Regions from separate parts of the Homo sapiens genome. Here all the other regions are linked to region 6. The links are contacts of gene promoters, found by promoter capture Hi-C in blood cells and fetal thymus (Javierre and others, 2016). All regions are on one chromosome and are shown on one strand. The core of a region is centred on a gene start or on the middle of the fragment in contact, and the rest is flanking DNA. Distances in the headings are between cores, read along the strand shown.

Evidence for each region. The method cuts DNA at HindIII sites, captures the fragments that hold promoters and counts their contacts. A CHiCAGO score of 5 or more calls a contact.
Region 1: a fragment that was not itself captured here is called in contact with the fragment with the promoter of FBRS in region 6 in 1 of 17 cell types (fetal thymus); the score reaches 9.9 in fetal thymus.
Region 2: a contact is called between a fragment that was not itself captured here and the fragment with the promoter of FBRS in region 6, in 8 of 17 cell types (fetal thymus, naive CD8 T cells, total B cells and 5 more). The highest score is 18.1, in fetal thymus.
Region 3: a contact is called between a fragment that was not itself captured here and the fragment with the promoter of FBRS in region 6, in 2 of 17 cell types (fetal thymus and naive CD8 T cells). The highest score is 9.8, in fetal thymus.
Region 4: a fragment that was not itself captured here is called in contact with the fragment with the promoter of FBRS in region 6 in 1 of 17 cell types (fetal thymus); the score reaches 6.2 in fetal thymus.
Region 5: a contact is called between a fragment that was not itself captured here and the fragment with the promoter of FBRS in region 6, in 2 of 17 cell types (fetal thymus and erythroblasts). The highest score is 7.2, in fetal thymus.

What each region holds. Positions count from the first base shown.
Region 1 is chr16:29,994,429-29,998,677 of GRCh38, reverse strand. INO80E (INO80 complex subunit E) reads right to left here and starts at 2,437. Exons shown (of 7, transcript NM_173618.3): 1 at 2,287-2,437; 2 at 2,061-2,131; 3 at 1,818-1,870. The coding sequence starts at 2,367. It overlaps HIRIP3 (HIRA interacting protein 3), which reads left to right and starts at 3,061. Exons shown (of 7, transcript NM_003609.5): 1 at 3,061-3,137; 2 at 3,215-3,335; 3 at 3,461-3,575; 4 at 3,835-4,249. The coding sequence starts at 3,073. RefSeq lists enhancers at 2,354-2,483, 2,544-2,713. The HindIII fragment of the contact is 354 bases long and covers 1,412-1,765 here.
Region 2 is chr16:30,074,181-30,078,349 of GRCh38, reverse strand. It overlaps PPP4C (protein phosphatase 4 catalytic subunit), which reads right to left and starts at 2,356. Exons shown (of 9, transcript NM_002720.3): 1 at 2,256-2,356; 2 at 1,875-2,035. The coding sequence starts at 1,972. RefSeq lists enhancers at 1,743-1,832, 3,455-3,634 and a silencer at 1,943-2,082. The HindIII fragment of the contact is 182 bases long and covers 1,593-1,774 here.
Region 3 is chr16:30,048,466-30,052,898 of GRCh38, reverse strand. It overlaps a transcript of TLCD3B not described here. Among named protein-coding and RNA genes, the nearest start is that of ALDOA, 15 kb to the left of the region's middle. RefSeq lists a silencer at 4,054-4,254. The HindIII fragment of the contact is 2,534 bases long and covers 961-3,494 here.
Region 4 is chr16:29,860,950-29,865,313 of GRCh38, reverse strand. CDIPT (CDP-diacylglycerol--inositol 3-phosphatidyltransferase) reads left to right here and starts at 2,088. Exons shown (of 6, transcript NM_006319.5): 1 at 2,088-2,499; 2 at 2,594-2,728; 3 at 4,055-4,208. The coding sequence starts at 2,457. It also overlaps the pseudogene CDIPTOSP. RefSeq lists enhancers at 1,430-1,967, 4,123-4,364 and silencers at 2,016-2,075, 2,086-2,395. The HindIII fragment of the contact is 2,733 bases long and covers 1,640-4,364 here.
Region 5 is chr16:30,100,959-30,105,528 of GRCh38, reverse strand. YPEL3-DT (YPEL3 divergent transcript) reads right to left here. Exons shown (of 2, transcript NR_135192.1): 2 at 73-2,072. It overlaps GDPD3 (glycerophosphodiester phosphodiesterase domain containing 3), which reads left to right. Exons shown (of 10, transcript NM_024307.3): 10 at 520-719. The coding sequence ends at 657. Among named protein-coding and RNA genes, the nearest start is that of YPEL3-DT, 6.8 kb to the right of the region's middle. The HindIII fragment of the contact is 297 bases long and covers 2,051-2,347 here.
Region 6 is chr16:30,655,967-30,660,328 of GRCh38, reverse strand. It overlaps FBRS (fibrosin), which reads right to left and starts at 1,898. Exons shown (of 18, transcript NM_001105079.3): 1 at 352-1,898; 2 at 1-66. The coding sequence starts at 810. It overlaps PRR14 (proline rich 14), which reads right to left. Exons shown (of 12, transcript NM_024031.5): 12 at 3,916-4,297. The coding sequence ends at 4,018. RefSeq lists silencers at 713-762, 833-1,062, 1,883-2,062, 2,113-2,192, 2,223-2,482 and an enhancer at 1,183-1,632. The HindIII fragment of the contact is 16,259 bases long and covers 1-4,362 here.

The DNA.
Region 1 (4,249 bases), core at 339-2,838, 660 kb after region 6:
TGCCTACCTTAGGGCTTTTTCAAACTGTGGGTCTCAAGCCATTAGTGGGTCATGAAATCAATTTATTGGTTTGCAACCAGCATTAAAAGAAGGGGAAAAAAGCAGTCTAAAAAGTGTCAGGATGAATTGGATACAGTGATCTTAAAAATGTTTCGTTAAACTTTGTTTTGTTTAACATGTGGGGCCCTGGTTATGATGTAAAATATAGTTAACTGCAGACAATATTCAAATAAAAGGACGAAAACAGTGTTCTCTCTCTTTCATGCCTCTGCTCTTCAACCAAGCCTGACCTGTTCTTACCTCAGGGTAGCTGCATTTATATTATTCTGCCGGGACAGCTCTAGCCCACTTCTTCACAAGATTGGTTTTTGTTTTTTTTTTTTTTTTGAGATGGAGTCTGGCTCTGTTGCCCAGGCTGGACTGCAGTAGTGCAATCTCAGCTCACTGCAAGCTCCACCTCCCAGGTTCACGCCATTCTTCTGCCTCAGCCTCCCGAGTAACTGGGACTACAGGTGCCCACCAACATCCCCGGCTAACTTTTTGTATTTTTAGTAGAGACAGGGTTTCACTGTGTTAGCCAGGATGGGGTTTCTTTCTTTTGAGACAGTCTTGCTCTGTCACCCAGGCTGGAGCACAGCGGTGCTATCATGGCTCACTGCAGCCTTGACCTTTCAGGCAAGGGATCCTCCTGGTTCTGCCTCCCAAGTAGCTGGGACCACATGTATACACCACTATACATGGCTAATTTTTTTTTAATTGAGATGGGGTCTCACTATGTTGCCCAGGATGGAAGGCTGGTTTCTTCTCTGGTCCCAACTCAAATGTCACTCTGTGAAAGGCCTTTCTTGAGTACTCCATTCAGAGGTTGCCTGCTGCCTGCTTGTGTGGTCTGCAAGCTAAGAAGGGCGTTTTTTTTTTTTTTTGAGACGGAGTCTCGCCCTGTCACCCAGGCTGGAATGCAGTGGCAGCGATCTCGGCTCACTGCAACCTCTGCCTCCAGGGTTCAAATGATTCTCCTGCCTCAGCCTCCCCAGTAGCTGGGATTACAGGTGCACGCCACCACACCCGACTAATTTTTGTATCTTTAGTAGAGACGAGGTTTCACCATGTTGGTCAGGCTGGTCTTGAACTCCCGACCTTGTGATCCGCCCACCTCGGCCTCCCAAAGTGTTGGGATTACAGGCGTGGGCCACTGCACCTGGCCAAGAATGGCTTTTAAGCTTTTAAACGGTTGGAAAAAAAAAAAACTAAAGAAAAATTTTTCATATGGAAAAATATGAAATTCAAATTTCAGTGCCTATAAAGTTTTATAGAAACATAGCCATACTCATGTATTTGCCTATGGGGTACGGCTGCTACTACAATGGCAGAGTTCAGTAGGTGCTTCAAAGATTGTATGTTGCAAAAAGCTTACTTACCATCTGGCCCTTTGCAGAAACAATTCATCAACCCCTGTTCTACTATAATCATTACCGCATAACTGTTTTCATTACCTTCAAGTCCTTCCTATGACCTAAAATTCTAGTCTATTGTCTTCATTTACTTATTCTTCCCAACTAGAATATAAATTACAAGAGGCCAAGGGCTTTGCCTATCTCTGCCTCTGCTGTATCCCCTGTGCCAAGCACAGTGCCTGAAACACAATAGGTGCTCAGTAAGTGCCTGAATGAAAGAACGGTGGAGGTGGAAGGCAAGCAACTAGGCTTAAGGACCACTGGGGGCTGCATCAGCCACCACTGCCTAAAAGGCGGGGGCCCAGGAAGCTTGCTAAGTACCAGGAACCATGCTCTCCACCAATTTTTGAAGACCTTGCTCACCCGAAGAGTCTTCATCCACGTTCTCGTACTGCAGAAGTCGGTCTAGGAGGAAACTGAGGGGAGGGAAGGAGACACGGACAGTGATTTTCCAGCGCAGCAATGTCCTCCTGGGTACCTGTCCCTCCCAGCTGGCCCATCGGATACTTGAAAGAGCCCATGCACTTGTGGCCCTACTCGGGGATGGGGTCCGAATGTAGATTTCCTAGGAAGCACATCGCCCTCCGCCCCTGCAACGTGCCTCACCTCTTGTCCCGGGACACCTTCAGTAATTTCCTTTGCGCTTTCCTCAGCTCCTCCTGGAAGCACTCGTGCTCCTGTATCACGGGCAAGGGGTGCGCTGGGCCAACGGTCCTCCGTGAAGGGCCCCGGAACCAGCGGCCGCTCGCCCCACCCACTTTACACCTGGGTAAACTGAGATCTTGTCCGCGCCAGGCCTCATCCCCCACAGCCTTCCCGCGGCAGCACTCACGTAGATGAGGAACTTGAGCTTCCGCTTCAGATTCCGGTATTTTTTTTTGTAGTCCACTTCGCCGTCCGCCGGCCCGTTCATGACCGGCCCGGGAGTGGCGCCCAGAGTCTGCCCTCCCGCTACCCCAAGCAGTGGCTGCCGTGCCGCTCCCGCCTCCACTTCCGGAGACGCTGCAAGGCTGTGCCGTCAGGACTACAACTCCCGGCGTACCCCGCGCTCAGGGGCGTCACCGCACGGGCCGACCTCCCGGGGGACACTGGGACAGGAGCGCGGCAGCCACTGCGCTGGGGATGGCGTAGCAGCGACGCGGTGACGCCACAAAAATGGCGGACGCTGGAAAGCGCCGTTCCTGACTCTAATGTACTTAGACACTTGAAGCCACAAAAGGATTTATCCCCGAGGTTCCTCATCTGCTCGCGAGGATGCCTTTTCTCTTCTGCCTTGCGAAATAACAGCAGCCTAGCTGTTGCCCGTGACCAGTGAGAAAGGCAGCGTCGCGGGCTGATTAGGTTTCACCCAAAGGGTGCCGGCGCCGAATTGGTTTCTAACGAGAACTTTTAAAATGATCCGTTCCAAAAAAGGGTAGGAGCCGCGAGACCCTCCAACTGCCCAGAGAAAACAAGTCTCGTCTGGCAAAGTTCTCGGCCCACGCGGTCCGCGGCCAAGGGCCAACGGTCCCTCGCCCCACGTTGCCGCAGCACTGCGCGTGCGCGAGCCGCTGTCAAACGCGCTGACGGAGGCCGAGAAGAAAAAAAGGCGGGAGCCGTCAATCCCGGGTTGAGCAAAATGGCGCGGGAGAAGGAGATGCAGGAGTTCACCCGTAGCTTCTTCCGAGGCCGCCCGGACCTCAGGTGCCCAGGGGGTTGGAGATGGGGTTGGAAAGGGCGCGGGTGGGTCGGGACTCCGTCCTGACACCATGTCCCTGCAGCACGCTTACGCATTCCATCGTGCGGCGGAGGTACTTAGCTCACTCGGGCCGCAGCCACCTGGAGCCCGAGGAGAAGCAGGCACTGAAGCGGCTGGTGGAGGAGGAGCTGCTGAAGATGCAGGTGTGCCGGGCCGGAGCCTGGGCCGCGGGAGGCGGAGGCGGGGCTTGCTGCTGAGGAGGAGGGGCCTGACGGGGCGCGGTGAGCGCAGCCTTGGTGCATAGTTTGCCCTCTTGGCGCACACACAGGTGGATGAAGCCGCTTCCAGGGAAGACAAACTGGACCTTACCAAGAAGGGCAAGAGGCCTCCCACCCCTTGTAGCGACCCGGAGAGAAAAAGGTTCCGCTTCAATTCAGAGTCGGGTTAGTGCTTCCTCCCTGCTGTGGGGGCCTTCTGCATCGTTGGTTCACTCAAGAAGCATTCACTGCGCATCTCTTATGTCCCCAGGCGTTAGATGAGGGAGCAAGGCTAGTGAGTCAGGAACCGGGAACAGCAAGTACAGATAGCTGTTTCCTGCTGCCCCTCCAACTGTCAGGGCAGGGCTCGAGGCAACCTATCCGAAGTGAAGGGAGAAGGGACAGGAGGAGCCTGTCTCAACCCTCTCTCCTCTCCATATTCCAGAGTCCGGCTCTGAAGCCTCCAGCCCAGACTACTTTGGACCCCCAGCAAAGAATGGGGTGGCAGCAGAAGTCAGCCCAGCCAAAGAGGAGAATCCAAGGCGAGCCTCAAAGGCAGTTGAGGAGAGCAGTGATGAGGAACGGCAGAGGGACCTGCCCGCACAGAGGGGAGAGGAGAGCAGTGAGGAGGAGGAAAAGGGGTACAAGGGGAAGACTAGGAAGAAACCTGTGGTAAAGAAGCAGGCACCAGGCAAGGCCTCAGTCAGTAGGAAGCAGGCCAGGGAAGAAAGTGAGGAGAGCGAGGCAGAACCCGTTCAGAGGACAGCAAAGAAGGTGGAGGGAAATAAAGGAACTAAAAGCCTGAAGGAAAGTGAACAGGAGAGTGAAGAGGAGATCCTAGCCCAGAAGAAAGAGCAGAG
Region 2 (4,169 bases), core at 434-2,933, 580 kb after region 6:
CAAAACTAACTTCCCCTCCGACTAGCTGCGTGATGTTGGGCAAGACATTATCTACTCAAAGGCTCAGTTTCCTCTGCTATGAAATGGGGCTAAGTACTCAGCCCACCCTGCGTATTCCTTAGGCTGTTGCAAGGAGCCATGGAGACTGAATATACGACTTCCTGCTATTCTGCAAACTCCAGCATGCTATCTAAGCTTTGTCTACCATCACCACCACACTGATCCAGGGCCCGTGAGGGAGACAATACTTCGAGGTTAAAGAATAGTGCCAGGCAACAACAGGTTTAAGTTCCTAAAAATGCCAATCAGGACTGAGGGAAAGGGGACAACTAAAAACACCATGGGGCTGGTCTGGTCAGCTGGCAAAAGAGAAAAGCCACAGACAGGTGGCGAAAAAGAGGCCGACCCTGCTCATCATCCCCTCACAGGCCCTGTCTGGCTGCAGGTAGTCTATGTGAGGCAGGGCCAGGCAAAGAGCCTGAGGGCCACAGATTCAGGACCCAGCTCTGCCACGTCCTCAGTGGGTGACCTCAGTTAAGTCACCAGACCTCTACGAGTCATGGCTTCCTATTCGATAAAATGCAGCAAATGATTCCAACCTCATAGGATTGCTGGGGGGAAGAGATGGATAGAAGTTTTTTGCCAGTACCGGGCCAGGCCAAATAGTGGCCCTGTAAAGGCCAATGTTTACTGTTCAATAAACGTAGGGTAATTCTGTGGGCTCTTCTGCCACAATTCTCCAGCCTGGTAGAAGCCACAATCACACAGTTCCCCAGAGGAGGCAGGTAATTAAACCCCTGACTGTTCCCCACGCATCTCAGGGCCTCCACTGTTACATTCGTCCTGCTTGGAATGCCCTTCCCTCACTGGCCCTGCCTCCATCAGCTAGCCAAATTATCTTCATCCTTCAAGGCCTACCTCCACTCAAAAGCCCTCCCTGATGGCTTTAGCCCATCTCATTATTGCCCTCTTCCAAAAGAAATAGAATACCTGGTGATTATCAAGCACGTATGCTGTACCAAAACACTGTGCTAACCTCATCTCCAGCACCAACTCACTGAATCTTCACAATCATCTTATTAAGTACTATTAATTCTGCTTTACAAATAAAGACACTTAAGATTACTAACACAGCTAGAAAGCGGCAGAGTTCAGATTCAAACCTAGAGCCATCTCACACTGCAAAACCTAGAGCCTTAACCACTACATCATCCTACTTCCCACAGAACTCTGAACTGGCCTCCCTATCGTGCTTAATTCTACCCTGGCTTACTTGCTACGATTTCTCAGGCTCCCACCCTGAACGTGAATGATCCAACTCCACCTTTTTGCATTATGGCCTGAAAAAGGACAGGACACTAAGAGCTGGCTTCAGACCCCATTCCTTACTTGTGGGTAACTTTGAACATGAAAGTTCCCACCTGTAAAATGAGTACAATACCACCAATCTTTAAGGGTTGTTGTAATTAGAAGACTTTTATAAATCACAGGGTCTTTAACTTTCCTGTCTTAAACTTTTGGTTTTTGGCTGACTCTTTTACCACCTCCTTATTCGAGGCCTCTCCCACAGTTCGGCCCCCCTCCAACAAGCTTCCGTCCCCCGACAGATGGACTTGTTTCCTTGAGTTTCCTAAGTACTTTATGTAACACTCTTACTCCACTGGAAACACATCGTCTAATAAACTTTAAGTGTCTTTATCCACTCTGTCTTCCCCGAGCAGGCTAGCTTTTCCTCGAGGGCAGCGGCTCCATCCTGCTCCTCTCTGGGAAAGCTTCCAGAACGAGGCAAGCCCAAAGTTCTCAGTTGGGTTTGCCCCAGGCCAGAACCCGTGGGCGGCGGCTTGGCCTCCCTTCCCCAGGGCCAACGAGCTCACCTGGCCTTAGCGCACAGGGCCTTGACTTCGCTCTCCTTGATGAGCTCGCAGCGACGCAGCTGCTCGATCTGCCGGTCCAGGTCGCTGATCTCCGCCATGGCCCACCCCCGGCGCGGGTCAGAGTCGGGGCCGCCGCCCCCTCCGCACCGCACAGGGGTCTCCTGGGAAAGGCCAAGACGAGCCCGCGGATCAGTGTCCGTCCGGGGCTCGGAGCGGACAACTCGATTCTAGAGCCGGCCCGGCTCCCCCACCCCCGCCTCCCCTCACATCGGCCCCAGGACCCCCCGGCGTCCAACGGCCTGGCCGCACCCCCGCTAACTCCCGTCGAACCCCGCGGTCCCGCGCTAAGGACGGTGACTTAGAGGAGTCTCGCACTATTACCGCCGCTGCGACTCCGGTTCCGGCTCTCCGGCTCCCTGCCTCCCTCTTTCACTCCGCTTTCGACCGCCGCCGCCGCCGCCGCCGCCGCTCCTACTTCCGGCCCCGCCGCGGAAGCAAAGGAGGCCAGTTCCGCCGCGCGCCGGATGTGGCGTCATACACGCTCCTCTCCTTTCGCAGCGACCCCTGCACCACTTCTCCAGCCTGAGATCGGGAAGGAGGTGGAGGAACCCGGTGGCGGCCAGTGGCAGTTTTGTGGGCTCTGCCGCTGGGCGATGTGGAGGCTATTAGAAACCCTAGACCAGTCCCCTCCCATATCATTTCATAAAAATGTTTAAACAACTGTCTTTTCTTTTTTTGAGACGGAGTTTTGCTGTTGCCCAGGCCGGGGTGCAATGGCACGAACTCGGCTCACCGCAACTTCCGCCTCCCGGGTTCCAGCAATTCTCCTGCCTCAGCCTCCTGAGTAGCTGGGATTACAGGCATGCGCTACCACGCTGGGCTAATTTTGTATTTTTAATAGAGACGGGGTTTCTCCATGTTGGTCAGGCTGGTCTCTAACTCCCTACCTCAGGTGATCCGCGCCCCCACCCACCACCACCCTTCGGCCTCCCAAAGTGCTGGGATTACAGGCGTGAGCCACCGCGCCCGGCCACAACTTTCTTTTTTCTAAATTAGAGACAGGGTCTCGCTCTATCGCTCAGGCTGGAGTCGGTGGGGCTATCATAGGTCACTGTGACCTCGAACTCCTGGGCACAAGCTATCTTCCCGCCTCGGGCCTCCCAAAGTGCTGGGATTACAGGCGTGAGCCACCGCGCCCGGCCATCCCCCATTTCAGCTAGGGAAACAAGCCGAGCTGGGGCTAGGCTTTGTAACTTTATTACACTTTTTTTTTTTAACATTACACTTTTTTTTTAATGTTACACATTTTTGTTACTTGTTTTGTCAGCCTTCCCCACCACAGTCCTTGGAGGATCCAACTTTGTCTTTTTAAATATTGCAGCCCCAGTGGTTAGAATAAGGCCTGGCACGGTAGGCATATATAGATACTTGTTAATACTTGTTCAATGGATGAGGGAAGCCAAGTTCAGATCTCTTCCTGTGCCGTCAGAGAAATATTTGCCGTGGACAACTTCAGAAGTTAACAGATTGGAGTCCACTTTTCCCACGCCAAGCCTGTGCCTCAGTCAGCATGACTTCTCTGATTCCAAAATGGCACTCTTGACATTTCTTAGTTGCTTCCGTTTTTCTTTTTGAGACAGAGTCTCACTCTCTCGCTCTGTCGCCCAGGCTGCAGTCCAGTGGCGCCATCTCGGCTCACTGCAAGCTCCGCCTCCCGGGTTCACGCCATTCTCTTGCCTCTGCCTCCTGAATAGCTGGGACTACAGGCGCCCGCCACCAGGCCCGGCTAATTTTTTTGTATTTTTTAGTGGAGACGGGGTTTCACCGTGTTAGCCAGGATGGTCTCGATCTCCTGACCTCATGATCCACCTGCCTCAGCCTCCCAAAGTGCTGTACCACAGGCGTGTACCACCGTGCCCGGCCTCTTTTTTTTTTTTTTTTTTTTTTTTTGAGACGGAGTCTTGCTTTTTCACCCCGACTGGAGTGCAGTGGCACAATCTCGGCTCACTGCAACCTCCGCCTCCCAGGTTCAAGCGATTCTCCTGCCTCAGCCTCCCAAGTAGCTGGGATTACAGGCATGTGCCACGACGCCTGGCTAATTTTTGTATTTTCATTTATTTATTTTTTTAAGACAGAGCCTTCCTTGCTCTTGTCGCCCAGGCGGGAGTGCAGTGGAGCGATTTTGGCAAACCGCAACCTCCGCCTCCTGGGTTCAAGCAATTCTCCTGCCTCAGCCACCTGAGTAGCTGGGATTACAAGCACCCGTCACCACGCCCAGCTAATTTTTGCATTTTT
Region 3 (4,433 bases), core at 978-3,477, 610 kb after region 6:
GGCACCGGGTTCTGGGGCGCCACAGGAGGATTGAACCCCCAGGCTACACCCACCACTTGGATGTATCTCCGGCCAAGCCACTGAGCATCTGCAAAAGGGAGAAACGCCTGCCGCTCAGGGATATTGTAAACATCAATGCTACTTTTTATATTTTATTTATATTTATTTATTTATTTATTTATTTATTTATTTATTTATTTTTGAGACGGAGTCTCGCTCTGTCGCCCAGGCTGCAGTGCAGTGGCGCGATCTCGGCTCACTGCAACCTCCGCCTCCCGTGTTCAAGTGATTCACCTGCCTCAGCCTCCCGAGTAGCTGGGATTACAGGCGCGCACTACCACACCCGGCTAATTTTTGTATTTTTAGTAGAGACAGGGTTTCGCAATGTTGACCAGGCTGGTCTCGAACTCCTGACCTCAAGTGATGCGCCCGCCTCAGCTTCCCAAAGTGCTGGGATTATAGGCGTGAGCCACCGCGCCGGGCCCGGTTCTTTTTTACTGATTTATTTATTAATTGATTTATTTATTTTTTGGAGACAGATTTTCGCTCATCTCCCAGGCTGGAGTGCAATGGTGTGATCTTGGCTCACTACAACCTATGTCTCCTGGGTTCAAGCGATTCTCCCGCCTCAGCCTCCCGAGTAGCTGAGATTACAGGCGACTGCCACCACGCACACCTAATTTTTGTATTTTTAGTAGAGACGGGGTTTCACCATGTTGGCCAGGCTGGTCTCGAACTCCTAACCTCAGGCAATCCCGCCCGCCTTGGCCTCCCAAAGTGCTAGGATTACTGGCATGAGCCACTGTGCCCAGCCTTTTTTTCTGAATTTTTAGAGATGTGGTCTTGCTATGTTGTTAAGGCTGGTCTTGAACTCCTGGGCTCAAGCAGTCCTCCAGCCTCAGCCTCCCAGGTAGCTGGGATTACAGGCATAAGCCACCTTCAGTAGGATCTGCTGAAGCTTCCTGAACCAGTGTGTAGGGTCTCACATTTCCACAGCTTTGCAGTTGCTGATCCCTCTGCCTGGAACACCCTCTGTCTTCCCCTCAAACCTCTTCCTCATCCCTCAAGCACGTCCTCAGTTTTGCCTCTGTGAGGTCTCCCTGCCAACCTCAGGCAGAGGTGGCTGCTTTGGACTGTGAATTCCCACAGCATCCTACAGATACTGTTGTTCTCGCACTTCTCACAAGATACTTGAATTCCTCACTTCCATGTCTGGCTCCACAATTAGACTGCAAGTGTCTGGGGCCTGGTCTGAGTCATCTCCGTATCCTGAGCTCTAGTACTTGGCCTAGCCCTGGGAGCCTTGGTGAATACTCACTGATTCTTTTTCTTTCTTTCTTTCTTTTTTCTTTTCTTTTCTTTTTTTTTTTTTTTTTTGAAACGGAGTTTTGCTCTTGTCGCCCAGGCTGGAGTGCAATGGTGTGATCTCAGCTCACTGCAACCTCCGCCCTGGATTCAAGCAATTCTCCTGCCTCAGCTTCCAGAGTAGCTGGAAGTGCCACCATGCCCAGCTAATTTTGTATTTTTAGTAGAGACGGGGTTTGTCCATGTTGGTCAGGCTGGTCTCGAACTCCCGACCTTAGGTGTTCTGCCCGCCTTGGCCTCCCAAAGTGCTGGGATTACAGGTGTGAGCCACTGCGCCTGGCCTGTTTTTTTCTTTTAATAAAGTAGACATGGGGTCTCACTATGTTGGCCAGGCTAGTCTCCAACTCCTGCCTCAAATGATCCTCCCACCTCGGCCTCCCAGGTTGCTGGTATTACAGGCCAGAGCCACTGCACTCAGCCAATACTCACTGATTCTATGAATGAATTGAAACCAAACACCATCCACGAATGAAGCATTGTTTTCCACACGTCCTAATTTCCTTGGCTTTCAAGGCACTCAGACCTCCCCGTTTCATTCCTAACCTTTTTAGATCACACACACACAGACACTTGCACACACCCACACATGCACGCTCACACAAGCACCCCTCTCTATGGAGGCCTCCGACTTCCTAAACGATGGCTGAATCCTGGCATTTTCCCCTAAAAACAATGCCACCATATACCTATTTTTGTCCATGTTCTCCACCCCAACATACCTCACCACAGCTGCTGCTCCTGGGGTTTCCTACACCATGAGGCAGCCACGGAAACTGCCAGGGGCTGTGTCCCTGGATCCAAATCTTCCCTCCCACTGTCAACCATACTGAGGTGGTCTCAGCCACCCTCTTGGCCACCCCTGGCCCTCTCAGAGGGCGTTTCAAGCCCAGAAAACAGAAGTCTAGCTGTTGCTAATGTCACCATTATTGATCCTAAAGAAGATTGTCTTCTTAGGCTGTCTTCCGGTTTTTGTTTTTGTTTTTGTTTTTTTTGAGACAGAGTCTCACTCGGTAGCCCAGGCTGGAGTGCAATGGCACAATCATGGCTCACCACAACAGCCTCGACCTCCTGGCTCAAGGGATCCTTCCACCTCAGTCTCCCAAGTAGCTGAGACTACAGGTGCATGCTACGACACCCAGCTAATTTTTAAAATTTTTTGTATAGACGGGGTCTCACTGTATTGCTCAGGCTGTTTTTGAACTCCTGGGCTCAGGCGATCCTCCTGCCTCAGCCTCTCGAATTGCTGGGATTACAAGCGTGAACCACTGTGCCCGGCCTTGGGCGGTCTTATTGTCTGATGGAATCCTGAGGACCAAGTTGAGGCCAGTTCTCACCTCAGCCCTACAAAAGGCCTCCAGGAACACATATTCTGCATATTCTGCCAACAGAGAGACTTCAGCCTTGGCAAGGCCCCTGGACACGTCCGTGGCCTGCAGTGCCCAGACTCGCTGGTGCTGGTGTTTTGTTCCTACCATGGGCTCATACATTATGCAGGAGCACGGGCAGTGCCCCAGGCTTGTGTGTTGCCAGGCAAGCCAAGACAAGGGATGATGTATGCACCCCACTTTGCCAAGGCCCCATTTCTTTTCTTTCTCTTTTTTTTTTTTTTTGAGATGGAGTCTTGCTCTGTTGCCCACGCTAGAGTGCAGTGGTGCGATCTCAGCGCACTGCAACCTCTGCCTCCCAAGTTGAGTGATTCTCCTATCTCAGCCTCCCAAATAGCTGGGATTACAGACGCATGCCACCATGCCCGGCTAATTTTTGTATTTTTAGTAGAGACAGGGTTTCACCATGTTGGCCAGGCTAGTCTTAAACTCCTGACCTTGTGATTTGTCCACGTCGGCCTCCCAAAGTGCTGGGTTACAGATGTGAGCTACTGCGCCTGGCTGTGCCGAGGCCCCACTTCTATCCACATCACAACATTTGCTGGGGGCAGAGAAAAACTGACTTCACAATAGCCAGCTAACCGCAAAGTCTCCTCTCCCGAAGTTGGAAGCTGGAGATGTCAGATGTATCATATGTAGTTCCGCACTTCCCCTAGGAAAGGGCAGACAGGATTGTATACTTCCAATAATCGTGGGGTGGGTGGGAGATCAGAGATGCAGAGTTCCCAGAAGATGAAAGAAGCTTCAGCAGGCTTGGACGTGGGAAGGGACCTGGCAGTTCTGATTCTGATCTAATACTTTCAGCTGCCTCCAATGGACATCCAACGATATCATCTCCCAGAGATTAAGAAGAGGTTCACCAGCCTCCTTAGTATAAAATGAAAGGCTTGTGTTTAGGTAATTACCCTGGGGGAATAAAGAAGCAGTGCTGAGCTAGAGCTGGTGTCAACAGAGGCCTCTCCACAGACTTTATCTTACTTAATCCTTACAGGAGGCACGAGTGGCAGAAACAATTACTTCCATCTTATAGGTTGGAAATAATAATGGCCCAGTTGGAAACAAAACGAAAAAAACCTTTAGGCCAGTGCAGTGGCTCACGCCTGTAATCCCAGCACTTTGGGAGGCCAAGGCAGGCGGACCACCTGAGGTCAGGAGTTTGAGATCAGCTTGGCTAGCATGGCAAAACCCCATCTCTACTAAAAATACAAAAATTAGCTGGGCATGGTGGCAGGTGCCTATAATCCAAGCTACTTGGGAGGCTGAGACAGGAGAATTGCTGGAACCCATGAGGTGAAGGTTGCAGTGAGCCAAGATCGCACCACTGCACTCCAGCCTGGGTGACAGACAGAGACTCCGCCCCCAAAAAGAAAAAAAAATAGCTGGGCGTGGTGGTGCATGCCTGTAATCTCAGCTACTCGGGAGGCTGAGGCAGGAGAATCACTTGAACTGGGGAGGCAGAGGGCAGAGGTTGCAGTGAGTTGAGATCATGTCACTGAACTCCAGCCTGGGCGAGAAAAAAAAAAAGCCTTTAGAACCAGGAAAGATCTGGATTTGAATTCTAGTTCTGCCACAGTATATCTGTGCAACCCTGGACAAGTCAATTGACCTCACTGAGCCTCAGTTGTACTCATGTGGAAAGTGGGGATAACCCTCAGGGACTGGCAGGGCTTTCTGTGATTATTT
Region 4 (4,364 bases), core at 1,757-4,256, 800 kb after region 6:
AGTGCACGGTTCAAAAATTCCCCCACCCTGCTGGGATATTGTGAAACCCTCACTCTCTCCCCTCCAGGTTCCTCACCTCTCTCCCAGGACAAAGAGCATCTCCCTTGAAGCCTCACTCACCAGGTGTCTGTGCCTCAGGTCTTGGTGAAGAATGCTGGAAGTAGAGGACCTAGTCAGAGAAAGGACTATCCCCGTGGCCAGAAGAGATGCGGCCAGGGCAGACGGGGCTAAGGGGATTCTCGGCCAGCAGTGAGGAGTGGGTACTGGGTTAGCGGGTGAGAGGGGCATTTCACAGGTCCTAGGGCTGGCTGTGAGATGGATGAGATGGGCACAGACTCCTGGAGAGTTCAGCTAGGGGTGGGAGGGGTCAGGGACTGTAACCAGGCATAGTGGGGGCAGCGGTTCTCTAGACACGGTGGTCCTGAGGCAGGGGGTTACCGCGTTTGGATATCTGAGTCGCTTGGTCTTGTGACTGCTTTTTTTTGATGGGCACAGGGTTCAAGTGGCAGCAAGCAGTGCACAAAGCCTCCTCCATGAGTTCTGCACTGATCTGGGACAGGTATTCCTCAGAACGAGATAACGAAGCCTGGGAAAGGAAAAGCCGGAGGGGTTCAGCCTGGGAGCTCCCACATGGGAGTGCTGGCTGTGGGAGTTCCCAGGCTGGGGCCTGTGGGTCCAAGGAGCTTGCTCCTGAAGGACTGGGCCTTGAGATTTAGCTAGAAAGCTCTGGACCTGGGGGAGGGGGGTTTGGTGGGGGTTTAGAGTCAGGGCCTAGTGCTGAGAGCTATGAGTCGGGGCTTCAGGACTCAGGGTTGAGGCTAGAGTCTCAGGGCCCGTGGCTCAGACCTGGCACGGGGTGCCTCTGCCTGGGAGGCTTTCACTTCATTACATTCCCACCTCTAGGGTTCCCTGCAGTGCTCACCGGACCTCCTCTCAAGGAGGGTGCAGCTTGAGATGGCCAGCTGCTCTTCTTCTCCCCCTCATTCCCCATCGGAGTGGACGCCATCCCCCTGGGAACAGTCGAAGCCTGAGTTGACCTGAGAAACCAGCCCGCTTTCCCCCAGAACCCAGTCCACCACCATTCCCCGGGCCCAGGTTTAAACAAGGCCTTTAGAGGAAACATCCCGCTGCCTCATTCCCTCTCACAAGAAAAAATAATAATAATAATAAAGGTTGCTTTATATCTTCGGGAGTGAGAGGGAACTCCCGCAACCCCCTACCCCTCACCCCTTCGCCTGGTGGGCCTCTCCTTCCTTCTTCCCTCCCAAGCACCTTCCCAAGCCGAGGCAGCCGACTTGACGCCCCAGACCTGGCAGATGGGTGGAAACCTTGGGCTACTCGGCAAAAGGAGAGACGTGGAGGCCTAAGGACCTCTGGTATAGGTCGTGGGGGATGGAGAATGGGAGATGGGGAGGAAGGCTGGAAAAGGGGGAGCCGGCTCCGTGTCGCTACCGGACGCTATAAAACCCTTGGAGTCTGCAGAGGTTCCGCAGCCTCGTTGCTAGGAGATCAGGGGTTCTAGAACTAAAGACAGAGGAATTTCCTAGCGCGCCCCGTTTGCTCCTCCAGCCTCCCCTCCGTACCCCTCCAGGTGCCTCCTTGAGGGCAGTGACCCCAAGCGCCAGACGCTTGAGAAGCTTGGGAGGATGACGTAGGGTGGAGCCTGCGACCTAATCCTCCCATCACAAGGGGCACGCGAAAAGCAACCCATCTGCAGGGCGCTCTGGAGCCTCTCTAGCCGCCTAGAGCCTGCGAGAGCAAAGGCGGCTGGAGACTTAGGGGGCGGGGAGTAAAGTGAGGACTGCACCAAATCTCCTGGCCTCTTGGGGACGCAAAGACTCAGGAGGAGGAATTTTATCGCCTTATCTTTGCCTCCAGGAAGTCATACCCTCCACAAAAGGAAAGCAGAGATTTTTATTCGGTCTTCTCTTTTACCCTTTCCTTTTCCGTTTCTAACTTTGCTTGACGTTAATGGTTCCTTCCTCCCTCTCCTCCTCTGCGCTTTGGTACGAGCCAAGGGAGAGGGGCGGAGGGAGGAAAAGGGAAAGGAAGCCGACAGGCCTTAAAGGGGCCGCAACTATTTTTTTAAGCCACTTTTTCCTCTCTCCAATTTTGCAACGACGGGCGCGGAGGAGGAGGTTCCCGGAAGCCACGCGCAGCTGGAGCAGCGGCGACCGCAGCTGGAGGCCCGGAGCGCCTGCGGGGCTGGCAGAGGCGAGGGAGGTTGCGGGTAGGAAGGGCGGACTGCGCGCGCCCCCTGCGTCCCGCGCACCTCGGGGCCGGTCCATGCTCCCGACGGCTGCGGGCTTCAGCATCTGGGGCCAGGTTGGGGCGGCGGGGTCCAGGGCGCAGGTGGTGCGGCCGATGCGCCGGGCCGGAGGCTGAGGCCGCGCTGCGGGGCTGGGACAGCACTGGCATCTCCAGAGCAGGCCCGGGGCAGCAAGGGAGGCGCCGCGATGCCAGACGAAAATATCTTCCTGTTCGTGCCCAACCTCATCGGTGAGTGCTGCCCACGGCCCCGGGCCGAACGAGAGGGCGAGGGGCCTTGGCGGGCTCCCTGATCCTGCCCTGTCTCCCCGCGTCCCGTTCCAAGGTTATGCCCGGATTGTCTTCGCCATCATTTCTTTCTACTTCATGCCCTGCTGCCCCCTCACGGCCTCCTCCTTCTACCTGCTCAGCGGCCTGCTGGACGCTTTCGATGGACACGCTGCTCGCGCTCTTAATCAAGGTGACAGACACCCCTCTCAGCCAGCCTTGGGGTTCAACAATCCCCTCCTCCCTTCCCCTGCCTCCTCGGGACCTCAGAGTCAGAGGGCTGTCATTCCCATCTCTGGAAAAAGCAGAACAGGATGGCCTGGGGCTTTTTGTTTTGTGTTTTGTTTTTTTGTTTTTGAGACAGGGTCTCGCTCTGTCACTTAGGCTGGAGTGCAGTGGCGCGATCATGGCTCACTGCAGCCCCCATCTTCTGGGCTCAAGTAATCCTCCCACCTCAGCCTCCTGACTAGCTGGGACTACAGGAGCGTGCCACCACACCCGGCTAATTTTTAAATTTTTGTAGAGACTGGGTCTTGCAGTGTCGCCCAGATTGGTCCCCAGCTCCTAGCCTCAAGCGATCCTCCTGCCTTGCTCCCAAAGTGCCGCGCCCAGCAAGAATGGACTGATTTTGTAGCAAAAGGAATTTAAGCTAGCTCTTGAGAACTCACTGCTTGTGAGAGGTGTGGATTAGCAAGACATGACATGGCGGTGGCGCTGCTGGAGGTCTCTCTGAATACAAGTCCATTCAGGCCAGGGGCGGTGGCTCACGCCTGTAATCCCAGCACTTTGGGAGGCCGAGGTGGGTGGATCACGAGTTCAGGAGTTCGAGACCAGCCTGGCCAACATGGTGAAACCCTGTCTCTACTAAAAATACAAAAATTAGCGGGCTTGGTGACGCGTGCCTGTAATCCCAGCTACTCGGGAGGCTAAGGCAGGAGAATTGCTTGAACCCGGGAGGCGGAGGTTGCAGTGAGCCAAGATTGCGCCATTGCACTCCAGCCTGGGCGACAGAGCAAGACTCTGTCTCGGAAAAAAAAAAACAAAAAACAAAAAACAGTGTATTCAACAGGTGTTTACTGGAGGCCTACTGTGTGCCCTGCATAAGCAGTTGGGGTTCCAGAAGGCATGCTTAGAGGGAGGATGGAGAGGGAAGGGTGATGGCTTCTGGAGGGTTGACTAATTTTTTAATCTGTTCTCCAGACCCAACTGTAAGGCTTCCCCTGAGGCATCAAGTCTCTATCTAGCCCTGGAGTCTTGGTTCTGGGGTTGATGAGTTGCAGACATAGCTTTCCTCTCCTCCTACCCTGTTCCCTCCACTCTCATGCCTTTCTCAGTTCATGCCATGGTGACCTTTGCCCACTGACCTCACACACAGCCTGTTTTCTAGCCTGCGTTCCTCCCCAGGCAGGCGGACACTTCCAGTCTTCGTTTACACCCTGCGTCAGAGTGATAAACCAAATATGGGCACCTGTCCTGCATCCACTGTGCCATAACAGCCCTTGCCCACCTAATCTTCCAGGAACCCGGTTTGGGGCCATGCTGGACATGCTGACGGACCGCTGCTCCACCATGTGCCTGTTGGTCAACCTGGCCCTGCTGTACCCTGGAGCCACGCTGTTCTTCCAAATCAGCATGAGTTTGGATGTGGCCAGTCACTGGCTGCACCTCCACAGGTCTGCTGCGATTCTGGGGGCCTGGGCCACTTGGAGACATTACAGTGGGGTGGGCTGAGCCTAGACGGAAGGGTGTCTGGGATGGCACTAGGCATCCTGGAAGGGCTCCTTTTTAGCTCTGCTTTGTAGAAAGACCCCAGGCAAACCTGCCTCTCT
Region 5 (4,570 bases), core at 950-3,449, 560 kb after region 6:
CATCTCAAAAAATAAATAAATAAATAAATAAATAATTTAATTGTCAGTATATATAATTTTTTTTTTTTTTTTGAGACGAGGTCTTGTTGTATCGCCCAGGCTGGAGTACAGTGGTGCAACCATAGCTCACTGCAGCCTTAGAGTCCTGGGCTCAAGCAATTCTTTCACCTCAGTCTTCCAAGTAGCTGGGAGCACAGGCGCATACCACCACACCGGGCTAATTAATTTTTACAAAGTTTTTTGTAGAGATGAGGTCTCACTCGATCTTAAACACCTGGCCTCAACTCCTGCCTCGGCGTCCCAAAGTGTTGATATTACAGGCGTGAGCCACTGCACCCAGGCTATGATTTAATTTTTAATAATGGCTGGGTTTAATAACCACTTTGCAAAATTCCTGAGAATTTAACAATCAGCTCCAGCCTACTGCTGCTGGGGAGTCTCCATAGAGGAGGAGGTGGGTCCCCACTCTCCAGATGTAAAATTGTTCAGAATCTACAGGCCCCCTCCCTCCCTGCTCAGGTGGTCTTTTGGTGCCTTAATGAAGAGTCGGATTTTGAAGCAGCCTTCAGCGTGGGAGCCACTGGCGTCATAACGGATTATCCCACAGCCCTGCGGCACTACCTGGACAACCATGGACCAGCTGCCCGGACCTCCTAAGTCCAGAAGCCTCGAGGTCTCCTGTTTCTCTTCCTGAAAAATAAATATTTGCCTTTCGATCACATCGTTGTGCTGAGGGTGAGGAGTAGAGGGGTGGGTCCTGAAGATATGAAGATGGCAGCTTAGGAGGGAACAGGCCAGCCCTGAGGCTGGAGCCTGGGGCCCTCAGGAGCCTGACCCACTGGTTCCACTGCATTCCTGTCCTCCTGCCACACCCCACCCCAGCCTGGCCTCCACTCTCCTCAGCAATGTCCTCTCACGGCCAACCCAGGCATCCTGGCCCCCAGCCACTTGACAGCAACAGGTAATGGTTCCATTTTCCTGAGGCCATCAACAGCCCAGGCACCGGGCAGGGAACTTGATCTCTTCCATGTCTTGCCCTGTGAGCTTCCTTCTCGGGCTGCAGAGGATGGGCCTGGGTGGGACAGCTGAGTTCACCCAGCCCCTCTGCTGCCCCCGCCATTCCAACCTTCTCCTCCCAGGTCTCCTTCTCCAGAAGCTCCCAGAATGCTTCTGCCATCTTCAGCCCCAGGGCCATATTCACTGAAGGAACTACACATTCACATTTCACAGATACTTCCTGAGCGCCTCCTCTAGACCAGGCTGGGCCCACTGCAGTGAGCAACACAAGCCAAAGAACTGCAGACACGTGTTGAAACAGACATTCCCTGAGATCAGACCTAACCCAGCCTGGAGCACAGGGGTGTTGGAAACAAGTGCTCAGTGTAGTCAAGAAAAACCAGCACTGAGACAGATTTCCCAGCAAGGCATCTTTACTTCAGAACGGTGCTACTTGCGCAGCTTGTAATCGCAAGAGCACCCCAAACAAAGGAGAGAAGGGCTTTTTAACCCTAACGCAGTTCCTGTTTCTGTGTCCTTTCCCCATTGACTGGGGATGGACTGCACAATCTGAGCTGATCCCGACTGGCTAAGGTTTAAACTTTCCCAAACAGGGTAGACTGGCGAAAAAGAAGAAAAACGGGGAGAAGTTTATGACCAGGAAGTTGAGTCTTTGAAGAGCTTAGCTGTCCCAACAATTTCCTCTCTTCTATTTGATACTTCTTCCTCTGCAAAAAATTTTAACAGGATTTGGCTTCGTTGTTCTTCTTGATTATCCAGGAGCAAGAGCTTGTCCAAGTATGGAGGGAGAGAAGAGAGGAAGGCTTTAGTGAGGGCTGTTTCTATGAGCCTTTGAGTTAACCCACGAATACAAGGTATGATGCGGCAGCCCACAAGGATAAGTACACTTGTTACAATTGCAAGAGAGGTAAAGATTGAAGCCAGGAGTCCTTTCCATTTTCCAAACCACTTTTCCATGAGACCCATAAAAGGGTTATCTAGTCCAGAATTTTCGGCTAATTCATTTGCCAGGGTGGTAAGGCCTTGTAAAGCTTTTGTGATGGTCCCGTCGGCGGCTGTATTATTAGGGATAAAAGTACAACATTGGACTCAGATCATGACACAGACTCTGCCTTTTCCTGCCAATATCATGTCAAGGGCTAGTCTATTTTCCCAGGTCATCTGGCTGGTGGGGCCTAATTGTTCAGCTATTCCTTTGATGGCATCCCTGGTATAACTGACGAATCGCTGCTCGCTGTAGTATATATAATTTATCCAGTCTACATTTTTATTTATAGCAGACCACCAGAACAAAACAGACTTAAACCCAGCGGCTATTTGATTCCAAGCTTTAAATTCACTTGGTAGCTCCCGTGGGACCCTGCTACTGTCTATGTAAACATGGGGGTCAAAGGCCCACGAGGGGCTTCTCTTTTTCTTTGGGTTACTTGCTTCCTGTCTGGTTGATGAAATGCCAAGGTGAAAGGGATGGCCAACTGGATTAGAGCAAAAGTGCTGCTCCAATTGCTTGGCAGCGTACCCAGTAACAGTCCACAATACCACCATACATCTGCTCGGGGATAGACAAGGGCTGACTGATTGGTTAGCTCTTGAAAAGGTTTAGACTCCCATTAGATTTCCAAGGAACGTCAATTTGTCCTGTTGTGGGAGACACAAGGTGTAACTGGCATTGAGAGGTGGAAGTCAAATGGTCCTTGGGAGCTGACCCGTAGGGCTCCTGATCTTTGGGAAACGTAGTGAAAGAGTGGCGCACGTCTTGTTTCCCCAGGCTGTGGTGTGCTGGAAGAGAGCTACCATACAGTCCATGCCTGGTTGGTTGGCCCATCTGAGTGGAAAGGGGACAATCTGGGTTTCCGGCCTGCCCGCTGCACAAGAGTAACAATCGCTTTTATTCAGGGTGCGAAAAGAATATTTAATCCATTCCAGCCAGGCATTTGCATCTTGATACCCGGTCTCAATGGCTAGGGTTTGCTTTAAGTCCTTGACTTCTACTATAGCTACTTTGGTTTTGTCATTGGGTAAGAGGTGAGGAATGGTTTGATTTGGTGGGCTTGGGGAGGGGGAGACGGTAGGAGGTGGAGAAGGGTGAACAAAACATATTTCAAAGAAGCCTATAGGGTCCCTTCCAGTAACATCGGCTCCTAAGCCATAGAAGCAACCTAGAGTGGAGTTAGGGTCGGTGGAGGTAGGGGTAGTAATAGAGGTAAGTACTGGGTTGCACTGGTTGGATTGGCAATTATAGGGGTGGTTCCCTTGATAAAGTAAAGGCTGCTTCCTTCGGGTTTTATTAGTTTTTTTGCACACTAGGCAACTATCCGCCACCTGACTAGCGAGGGTAGAGATTCCTATATACCCATAGGCTTTGAGGACTGTGTCACACATAGCTTGGGGACCCCAGTGAGTTTCTTGATAAAGCTGTGATAATATTTCCCTCATAAGAGGTTTAGACAGCATTTCCCTCCCGTCTGGTAATACCCACCTTCCCTCTGAGCTTTCCTTAGCTCCTATTCTTTTTAACTTTTCTTGGTCCGCGTCGGAGAAGATGGGGATTGCGACTGGAGGGGAAGGCAAGGGGTCAGATGGAAAATGGGTGCCTCTCAGGAAGAGGCAACTTGCTTGGCTACTTGATCTGTGAGGTTATTTCCCCGGTTTTCAAAAGATGGGTTTTTCTGGTGTCCTGGGACGTGGACCACCACTATTTCTTCTGGCAGTTGAAGATTTTCTAGTACTTGCATAATCAATTCTTTATAGACAAGGTCCTGGCCCTTACTATTAATGAGGCCTCGTTCAGTCCAGATCTTTCCAAAGGTATGGACTACTCCAAAATACTTGGAGTCAGTGTAAATAGTTCCTTCCTGATTTTGCAGAGATTTTAAGGCCTGATTTAATGCAAAGAGTTCACATGTTTGAGTGAACCAGTTATTGGGCCGTCTCCCTGACTCTACCTCCATGAGGGTTTCCCTGTCAACTACAGAGCACCCGTTATGCCTCCTTCCTTCAATTACCCGAGAGGAGCCGTCTATAAAGAGGTAATGCCCAGTTTGGAACAGGGTCTTGCTTAGATGCAGTCTGACTCTAGTCTGATAACTGATCAGATCTAAACATTTATGCTCAGGTTCCTCCCGGTTCGGATTTCCTGTTAGGAAAACATCGGAGTTGAGCGAACTACCAGTGGTCAATGTTAAATCATCCCTCTCTAATAAGATAGCCTCAATTTTTTTGGGGGGTGGGTGGAGGATGGAGTCTCGTTCTGTTGCCCAGGCTGAAGTGCAGTGGCTGATCTCGGCTCAGTGCAACCTCCGCCTCCGGGGTTCAAGCAATTCTCCTGCGTCAGCCTCCCAAGTAGCTGGGATTACAGGCGTGCGCCACCATGCCTGGCTAATTTTTTGTATTTTTAGTAGAGAGGGGGTTTCACCATGCTGGGCACTCTGGTCTCAAACTCCTGACCTTGTGATCTGCCCACCTCAGCCTCCCAAAGTGCTGGAATTACAGGCGTGAGCCACCACACCCACCCGATAGCCTCACATTTTAAAATCCTTGAGTCAGTGAGCTA
Region 6 (4,362 bases), core at 649-3,148:
TTTCCGCTTCCCAGAATGCTTCAGCCGATGTTCCAGTCGCTCTGGGGGCTGAAGAGATGCATCCTTCTGTGGAGGAGGAGGTGGGGCTGAGATAGATGGAAAAGGGCAAGCTCCCAACCCCTCTAGGGGTGACCAGGTTGCCGAAGTACCCCTCGGGCCGGGAAACCGGGTCCCCAGAGACGAGCTCTACCTCCTCCCACCCCAGGGCGGGGCAGAGGCCTGGCCAGAGGAGCCGGTTGCTCTGGTTTGGGGTGCCAGCATTCCCCCCTCAACTCCACCCACTAGGGGCACTGCCCCCTCCTTGCTGCCCCTCGGAAACCCCCAAAGTCTCCTAGCCCCATTAGGCCCCACCTGCAAGGCCTCGAGGGTGGCGAAGCTGGCGATGGCGAAGCCATCGATCAAGTCCTCCTCCTCCTCTTCCTCCTCCTCAGGCTCCTCCTCGGCTTCGCCGTCGTCTGCGCCCCCCTCCTCCTCCTCCTCCTCCTCTTCCTCCCCGCGGCTGCCCGAGCCGGCAGGCCGCTTCCGAGCTCGGGGTCGCGGGGGTCGAGGTCTCGGACGGGGCCGCCGGCGTCTCGGGCCCCCAGGCCGCTCTCCAGACGAAGCTGACGACCAAGGCCTGGCGGGCGGCGGCGGCGACGACGAGGACGAGGAGCCGCGCGGGGCGGCCAACAGGGCCCGGGGCGCGTCGCCGCCTGGACCTCGGCGGCGCCGCTGCTCCCGGTCTCGGTCTCGGCGCGAGCAGCGCCGCCGTCGGCGCTCCCCCTCTGCTGCCCAGCCCGGACCCGGGGCCGCGGCCGCTGCCGTCTCCATGGCGACCGCCCTCAGCGCCGCATCCGGAGGCGGCGGGGCCCGAAGCGGCCTGTCCGCAGGCCCGGGGTCGCAGGCGCGGCGCTGGCGGCTGCACAGTGACGAGAGGGCCACGGCTTCTCCTTTAAAGCCGGATCTGCTGGCCCCGAGCTTGCCCCAAGGCCACGGCCCGGGGAGCCGGCGCCGCCCCCGGGGCGACAAGCCCGAGGGCCCCCCCTGCGGGCTCGGCGGGGCCGCGACGGCGAAAACGGGGCGGCCGTCCCTTTAAGGCGAGGCCCCAAGTTGTCCAGCTCCCGGCCCCTTTAAGACGACCCGACAGTGTCCGGCGGCCTAGTGCGGTGGCCACCCCCTGCCAGGGGTCGATGCAAGTCTCCCCGAGGAAGAGGAAGGGCCACCCCTTTAAAAGGGGCCGAAAGCTCGCCCCGAAACGCAGACCTCCCCTTTAAAAGTGTCTCAAGTCCTCCGGCTCAAAGAGGCCACCCCTTTAAGGAGTCCAGGGTCCTTCTAACAGCAGGCCGTCCCTTTAAGGGCTCGGAGTTAGTTTCTAGTCCTCCACAAGCGGCCACTTCCCCTTTAAGTTGAATTTAAAAGACTTCTTGTGTGTGGGGGAGGAGGACGTAAAGAAAAACCCCACTCGCCCCAGTTCTCCCAACGGCACAGTTCTCAATTTGTCAGCGTCTGCTCGGCGGCTTCCCCTTTAAGGCTGGCGTTGCAGTCCGCCGAGTTCAGTGGCCACCCCTTTAAGGAGATTTAAAGGGGCCTCCTCCGGGCCCAGCTCCTCCAGCCTCCGCCTCCGGTCGCCATGAAAGGCGCGAGGCGGGGCGGGGCAGCGAGGCCAGCCCTCCAAAGCCCCGGATGTGAGGCAACGGTGACGGGTACAGCTCCCCTGTCCGCCGACATAAAAGTCTCTTCCTCCTTTCCTCCGTCTCTGTCCGACTTGGGCCTTAGGGGATCCGGAACGGCCGATGGGCAGCGGGGGAGCTCCAGCACAAACTCCTGTTGTCTCCTTTGGAGTCTTAGGGCGCTTCTCCGCCAGGACTTCCCTACCCCTCCTCCCTCTTCCTCCTCAGCCTACGCCTCCTTCCTCTCTCGGCCTCCTCCCACGCTCCGCCCCCTTCCCCTCACCCCCAACGGGCGCAGTCGTTGATAGGCTGGGAGGGCTACGTCAAGGTGAGGGGCGGAGCCAAACCCGAGGGAGTGGGTGCATGTAACCGCCCTCAAATCTTGGATTGGGTTACGTCGGATTGGCTCCGCCCTTCCCCCCAGTCTTGTGACTCGACTGGTTAGAAGTAGGTGTTTGGGGCGGTTACTACAGGGCCCCGCCTCTTCCTGCTGTTTGTTTATTGGCCGGTCTCCTGATGGCGTCGAGGCGAGGGGCGGAGACGCGGGGCCTGAGGCGTTGGGGGCGGTTGGCCGCCGGGGGGCGCGCGGCTGCAAGAGGTTCCGTTCCACAGCCAGTTAAGTCATCGCCGCCTTTCCGCCGCTCGGCGCGGCCCACAGACAGCCTGGCGTCTCGCGCACGCGCGTGGCGGCGCCGCCGTCAGGCTGGCTGCTTGCGAGTCGTTCCGCGGCCCGGGGTGGCCCGAGCGGCCGCGTGCTGTGCCTGCGCCTGCGCCGGCCGCACTAACAGGCAGCCGCGTCCCTTCCAGGCGCGGCTGCTGGCAGCGGTCCCGAGTGCTAGCAATTCGAAAACGCCTTGCACCTGCATGAGCGCTTCTCCGCGTTTGTGACTGCGTTTGGTAATAATTCCATGAAGGAGATGCTGTCAGCCCCATTTTACTGGGACGGAAAGGAATGCGCGCACAGACGGGCTGGTAGTCTCCTAGCCACGTCTATGTCAGCCACTGCCCTGTGATGCCTCTCAGTTATGAAAGATGCACCCCACTGCTCAATGTGACTGGCTTAAAAAAAAAGAGACAGCCATTTCTGGCCTTCGGTTGCCCGGGTTACCGTTTTAAAAGTGGACAGCGCGCTGACATGCCTGCCTTGCTTTCTCGTCCATAAAATGACTAATTCCCTGTCGCAGGGACATGTGCAGGTCAAGCACCTATGACAGTCGTCGTGAGTGCTTCATTATGGCCCATTACTCTTAGCTCTTTGTTTTGTTTTGTTTTTTTGGGGGGGACAGAGTCTGGCTGTGTTCCCTAAGCTGGAGTGCAGTGGTGCGATCTCAGCTCATTACAACCTCTGCCTCTCGGGTTCAAGTGAATTCTCCTGGCTCAGCCTCCTGAGTAGCTGGGATTACAGGTACACACCAAGACACCCAGCTAATATTTGTATTTTTAGTGGAGACGGGGTTTCACCATGTTGGCCAAGCTGGTCTCGAACTCCTAGGCTCCTGTGATCCACCTGCCTCGGCCTCCCAAAGCGCTGGGATTACAGGCGTAAGCCACCGCACCTGGCCTAGCCGTAGCTCTTGAATCCAGCAGCAGGTCCTGGCCTGCATGTTAGCAGGAATTCAGGGCCATCTTGATCTTCAAGGCCTTGACCCACTATAGGCCTTTCAGTCTCCTTGATATAAATGAATTGGGAGAACCCAGACCACGGTCTAGGGTCACAGTATCATCTGGCACTGATTCAGAAGTGTCCCTCCACACAGGAGAATCCTCTAAGCAAGAGAGTATCTCTAGGCCGGGCATGGTGGCTCATGCCTGTAATCCCAGCACTTAGGGAGGCCAAAGCAGGCGGATTTCCTGAGGTCAGATGTTCAAGACCATCCTGGCCAACATGGTGAAGCCCAGTTTCTACTAAAAATACAAAAATTAGCGGGTGTGGTAGCGCACGCCTGTAATCCCAGATACTTGGGAGGCTGAGGCAGGAGAATCGCTTGAATGAGGGAGACAGAGGTTGCAGTGAGCCAAGATCGTGCCATTGTACTCCAGCCTGAGTGACATGAGCGGAACTCCATCTATATCTATCATCTATCTATCTATCTATCTATCTATCTATCTATCTATCTATCTCAAGTGACCACTTCACCCCCTCCCTGTACTCTGTACCCAACCCCTGTCACCATCTCTAGCACCAGCCCCAGTTCCCAGACCTTTGGGGGTCAACGTAGAAACATCAGCCAAATCAATCTTAAACTCAGCTAGAGATACAAAAGAATCAGAAACATATCGAAAACTTTACTAGAAATATAGAGAAAAAAAAATAACTGCCTGGGAGGTTTCCTGTCCCTTCAGGATGGATGACCAACAGATGGGGCACCTAGGTCCAGTGGGGCTGCTCCCGATCTACTGTTTCTTCCTCCAGGAGCAAGGCATCTAGCTCCTCCAGCCGCTGCTGGAGCAGGGGGCCCACATCAGGGCTGGGGGCCACATTGGGAGGAACAGTCCTGCCCCCTGCAGCCCGGACCCCACGGGACGGTCTTCGTGATCGAGGAAGGCTGCTGTCCCGAAATTCCACAGCCCGCCGGAGCTTCCTTGAGCTGGTGAAAATCAGAGTCCCATTGCGCTCCCGGGGTTCCTCAAAGATGGTCTCAAAGGTCCTGAACAAGGCAGGGAGAGGAGCTGGTTTTATCAGGGTGCTCCACAGCTCCAGATTTCCCTCTGC